Linked DNA regions of Homo sapiens: region 1 is linked to region 2. The links are contacts of gene promoters, found by promoter capture Hi-C in human tissues and cell types (Jung and others, 2019). All regions are on one chromosome and are shown on one strand. Each heading gives the region's core, a stretch centred on a gene start or on the middle of the fragment in contact. The rest is flanking DNA. Distances are from core to core; before and after follow the strand shown. Region 1 overlaps TEX2 (testis expressed 2). Region 2 holds the start of SCN4A (sodium voltage-gated channel alpha subunit 4).

Region 1 (2,700 bases), core at 33-2,532, 280 kb after region 2:
TTTTTTTTTTTTTGTAGACAGGGTCTCACTATGTTGCCCAGGCTGGTGTCGAACTCCTGGGCTCAGGCAGTCCTCCCACCTCAGCCTCCCCAAGTGTTGAGATTACAGGTGTGAGCCACCATGCCCGGCCATGATAGGAATTTTTTAAAGACCACTCAGACTGCTGAGAGGTGAAGAGATTAGAAAGGAGTAGAGGTAGATGAGGGCAGGTCAGTGAGGGGCTGCTGGAGTATTCCAAGCAAAAAGATGGTTGTTTGCACCAAACTAGAACAGTGGCAGAGAAGCTTCAGAGAAAAGAACCATCCAAGAGTCGTTTATAAGATAAAAATCAGCAGTATTTGGTGCAGGACTAGATAAGGGCGAAAGGAGGGAGGTCGAGCTTGCATTCGTAGTGAGGAGAAATGTCAATTACCTCTGGCAGAAAGCACAGGCTGAACAAACTCTGCAGCTCACTGGCACTGCACTTCCCTCGGCACCTATTTTTCAGAATTTCTAGAAAAATTTCAAGCCCATCTCTTATTTACTCCTAAATCTATTCCTGAAACTGTCATCCATTTTTAACACATTTATCAAGCATCTACGATGCTCTGGGGATAGAGAGGTGACCAGCAGCTCATGCTCTCTGCGTCTGTCTTCTTTGAGCCCCTGGGTGTTGCCTAGAGGCAGCCTCTAAACCCTCCTGGCAGCAAACACAACTCCCAAAGCTGGGGCTCATCTTACCTTCTGAAACCTTCATACAAGCCACTTAACAGACGCCTCTCTACCTCTTAGAGACATTCCGCAATGCAACAAGCAGCTTGAGTTCTTTTCACTCAGAGATTCACTCCTCATTTCATAATATTCTGAGCCCCAGGAGACATCATAGCATCAAATCAAAACTCCCCAGGTCTTTGAGCCTTGCTCTTAAAGGAAGATCATGAGTCCCACCAGGCAGTTCTTCCTTCTACTACATAATCAAACTCCTTTTCTCTAAAATGTACTGAGTTTGGAACCTACATGCGACTTGTGCCCTTTGATTTGTTGCCCAGATTAGTTTGTGCTGGGCTCTATCCTATCACCAGGAATGGTGGTTTAATAAACCCTGGAGCTATACTGTCCAATATGGGCACATGGAACTATTTAAATTAAAATTAAAGCTTCGGTTTCAGCTTAATTAAAATTAAAGCTTCCAATTCTCAGTTGCACTAACCACCTTTCAAATGTTTAATGGTCTGTTGTACCATGATGCACAGAGGCACTGCTACAGGGTTGTTTGCATGTTTGATGTGAATTTCCCCTTTAAAAAATAAAAATGAAATTCAACATATAGAAACTTTCGACATATTAACTTGTGTCCTGTTTCATGCTACAAGTGAATACTATAAATTGAACTTAAAGTAACATATGCCACTAAAATACTGCTTCTTAATCAGTTTCACAGTTTGGGCTTTGTGTAAAATTCATTTGCTAAGAATGTTTGAAAATAACCTGTGACTTCATCATGGGCTCATAATTTTATGAGCCACTGTGGACAAACACTGTCCTTTTTTGTTTGTTTGATTTTTAGATACAGGGTCTTATTCTGTCACCAACGCTGTGGTGCAGTGGTGCCATCATGGCTCACAGCAGCCTTGAATTCCCAGGCTTAAGCAATCCTCCTCCCAGCTCAGCCTGCCAAGTAGCTAGGACTACAGGTGTGTGTCACTGCATCTGGCTTTTTTTTTTTTTTTTTTGTAGAGGCAGGGTCTCACTATGTTGCCTAGGCTGGTCTCAAACTCTTGGCCTCAAGTGATCCTCCACTTCGGTCTCCCAAAGTGCTGGGATTGCAGACATAAGCCACAGCACCTGGCCTTTAAAAAAAAAAAATGTACCTTGCACACTGCCCAGTACAGTTGCTACTTAGTAAATACATAGACTAACTGGTCATCTTGAAAGCACTCTTAATTTTATATGCCTACTTCTCATACACAAGTCTGTAAGAGGTTTCCACTAAATGTTCATTTCAGATTCTGAATTTCAACTACCTAACACCAGCCCTATAATTATGCAGTGTGCAGGCATTTTTTTCTCTAGAATATCTACCAAATGATTTTATAGTCCAAAGACACATTTATACTGTGACAGAAAATCCACCAACAATGCTTCATTGTGGAACTATCTTGGAACAAGATTAGCAAAAGTTGATAATTATCAAAATTGAGTAATAGATGCCTGATATCCATTATATTATTCTTCACTTTTGTGTATGTTTTTTAAAATTCCAGAGCAAAAGATATTTTGAAAAACTTAGTCAATTATATACAAATTTGATGAGGCCTCACACATACTTTACAAGATAACTATAACTTAAATATGGCTGGGTTCATAGCACTTTATTGACTATCCCAAGCCAGTGACCTGTTTCATGAAGTCCTCTCCTTGTATGGTCCTGAGGCGTGGTTGTTCCTTTGAATGGGGAAACATCATCAAATCTCGCTGGAGATGGGGTTCAGGCAGGTTTTGCACACAGCAACTCCGAGTTGTCATGTTTGACCACCTGGCTGTAAGGCCAGTAGTCTCTGTCTCCTCTTATCAGGAAAAAAGGTGAAAGATCTGCCCGCATCCAAACACTAAAGCAAACAACTGCAGGCAAGAGCAGAGGAACAGCTGCTTCCGGTCCACCTTGCTCCACACTCAGGACTGCACCCACTGCAGAGATGCCTACAGGTAGGGCCAAGTCTC
Region 2 (2,700 bases), core at 61-2,560:
GCACAACTGACCGATGTCCCCTGCAGCCCTCAGCCCAGGCAGCTTCCCTCTTTAAGGCCTGGCCCCCTCCCCTCACCCACCCCAGCCTCAGGATGTCCTGGGGCCCCTGCTCACGCCATCATGATGACACTGAAGTCCAGCCAGTTCCAGGGGTCCCGGAGGAATGTGAAGTCGTCGACACAGAAGCCTCGGGCCAGTATCTTGATGAGGGACTCAAAGGTGTAGATCCCTGTGAAGGTGTACCTGGGGGGGAGAGGGCCGGCCGGGACAGGCATGTCACCTGGGTAGGGGTCAGTGTGGCAACGACAGACCCCCAGAAGGGAGGGACACAGAAATGAAATATGCCACTCAGGTGGCTAAGGACACTAGCGAGTGATAGCATGGCCACCCCAGGGACTCAAGGTGTGGATGAGGGTCACAATGACAGTGTGTCTCCCTGAAAGACAAGAGCAGCACCACACAGAGGTGCAAACACCTGAGATGGGCTGTGTCCCAGGGCTGGGGAGCTCAGGGAGCAGGGAGACTTACTCCACATTCTTGGACCAGGGAGGCGGGTCACTCATGGTCATGAATACGCAGTTGGTCAAGATGGTGATCATGATGAACATGCTGAACAGCGTGGGGCAGGGTCAAGGAAAGTGAGGAAGCAGCTAGGATGGGAGGTGATAGAGGGTCTCCTGGGCCACAGCACCCCATCTCGCCCATCCCTAACCCCTCCCGCCTCTCCCATCTTGGGCAGGATATGCATGGATGAGCACCTTGATGGCCCCGCGCCTGACTACGCTGAAGGGGCTCAGCAGGTAGAGAGCAGGTGTGGCGGAGAAGCGGAAGATGGCCTTGCCCTTGTTGAGTACGATGAAGGTCTAAGGTGGGAGAGAGGCTGTGAGACCCAGGGACAGACAGACAGGCAGACAGATGGATGGATGGCAGACAGACAGAGGAAGCCTTCCCAGGCCCAGACCTTCTTATTGCTGTAGTAGGGATCCAGGTCCTCCAGGGGGATGCCGATGACCTCCGGCGGGGGGTCTCCGTAGATCATGGGTAGGTTCTTGCCAGCCTCCAAGTCACTTCGTGGCTTCCGTTCGGGCTCCTCAATCTCCATCTGCTTATTCCGCTGCAGCCGGGCCTCCTCCTCCACCGCCCGCTGTTCTATGGCTGCCAGTGACTCCCGGGTGAAGGGGCGCAAGCACTCAGGGCCCAGAGGCACCAGGGTGCACAGAGATGGTCTGGCCATCCTCGCATCCTGGGCTCAGAGACCAGAAGGGTGGTGGGTGGCCTGGGGAGCTGCAGTGCGCAGCCCCGGGGTGCTGGGCGGCCGCCCCTCCCTGGGCGGGCCGTCCACTCCTCACCTCCTGCTTGCCCAGTGGCCGAGCCGGGGAGGTGGGCGTGCAGACTCTATCAGGACTGGGAGATGTGCCTGCAAGGTGCTGCTGCTGCACAGGTGCTGGGCACAGAGCATCACCCCTGGCCCCCCCACCACACTTTCCCCAGAAGTGGCAGCGGCTGCCCTCAGGACCGACGGCAAACCAACCAGATTCTTTGTGGCCTTGGGACTTGGGGTCAACACCCCAGTGCCTTCGACTGCCTCCTGGGCCCAAGCTCCGGGAACTGTGTGGCTTCAGCCTAATGGGACAGAGAGAGAACCACAGCTGGCTGTGCTCAGGCGACCTCTGGATAGGCCAGGATGAGGGGCCTGGTTGGGGGGTTAGATCAAAGTGGGACTGGCACAGGGACTTCACCCTGAGGGCCGACGTGGATCCTGATATTGGCCACCTGGAGATGTAGGTGGAGACCATGAAGGTGGCAGCCAGGCTCTGTGCAAAAAGGTTGCTGTGATTGATTAGTGATGTCTGCCAGGGGCGCAAGGAGGAAGACCGTGGTGCCTCTGCCTGTGTTTGCCATCCCTGGCCTGGAGGGAAGGGAAAAGAAAGATGGGGGTGGGTGTGGATTCCTCTTTCCTGATCTTTGGGGTACTTGGTGTTGGGCTGGGAGAGGGAAGAAGAAAGGGCCCTGGGCCCGGCAGGGGTCTCCTAGCAGTTCCCTCCCACAGCCCTGGGGGCTCTAGCCCACTGGGCAGGCAGGGTGAACTGGGAGAGGAACATTGCATCTGGAGAGCTGCAGGTGCTAACGTGGAAGAGAAGACGTACAGGGAAGGTCACAGGGACAAGGAGATGGACAACTCCAATGGTGGGGGCAGGGCTAGAGCTCCTGGGGACTGCTTTTGGCTGGTGGTCCCAGCACAAGCTGGATTGGGGGAAGGGGCATCCACAAGGAGCCTTTGATGCCTGTGAGCATTGTGTGGTCTGGGCCCCACCTGGCCCCTCTCCCCTTCTGCCCAGCCCTCCAGAGCCTATTCCTGTGGAAGGGAAGGGGGATCACTTATTGCAAATGGCCCTGGGGGAATGACCACATCAGCAGGCAGTTGCAGTGAGACCCCTGCAGACCAGCTGCAGGCAGCCACTGCCAGACCCACATGGACAGACCTGGAGCCACCCCTGCACCACAGGGACCTGGACAGACCCCTAGAGACCCCCAAAGCCACACCTGAGGGTGGACCTCTCCCAGTGGGCCTTGACCCTTGCAGCAGCGCCCCTGCCCTGGTCAGCACGGGCGCTTCTCAGGCTTGCTCAACAGGTGGGGAGGGTGGCCAGGGAGAGGCCAGAGCCACTGGGCAGAGCTGGCCACGCCCTTGTGCCTGGC

What was found. The method cuts DNA at HindIII sites, captures the fragments that hold promoters and counts their contacts. A contact is called where the count stands out against the background at its distance.
Region 1: a contact is called between a fragment that was not itself captured here and the fragment with the promoter of SCN4A in region 2, in 3 of the 25 tissues and cell types used here (mesendoderm cells, spleen and thymus).

Annotation. Positions count from the first base shown.
Region 1 is chr17:64,253,335-64,256,034 of GRCh38, forward strand. The region is part of intron 1 of TEX2 (testis expressed 2); the gene reads right to left. Among named protein-coding and RNA genes, the nearest start is that of TEX2, 8.6 kb to the right of the region's middle. The HindIII fragment of the contact is 4,207 bases long and covers 1-2,700 here.
Region 2 is chr17:63,971,608-63,974,307 of GRCh38, forward strand. It overlaps SCN4A (sodium voltage-gated channel alpha subunit 4), which reads right to left and starts at 1,311. Exons shown (of 24, transcript NM_000334.4): 1 at 962-1,311; 2 at 745-863; 3 at 529-618; 4 at 115-243. The coding sequence starts at 1,234. The HindIII fragment of the contact is 21,993 bases long and covers 1-2,700 here.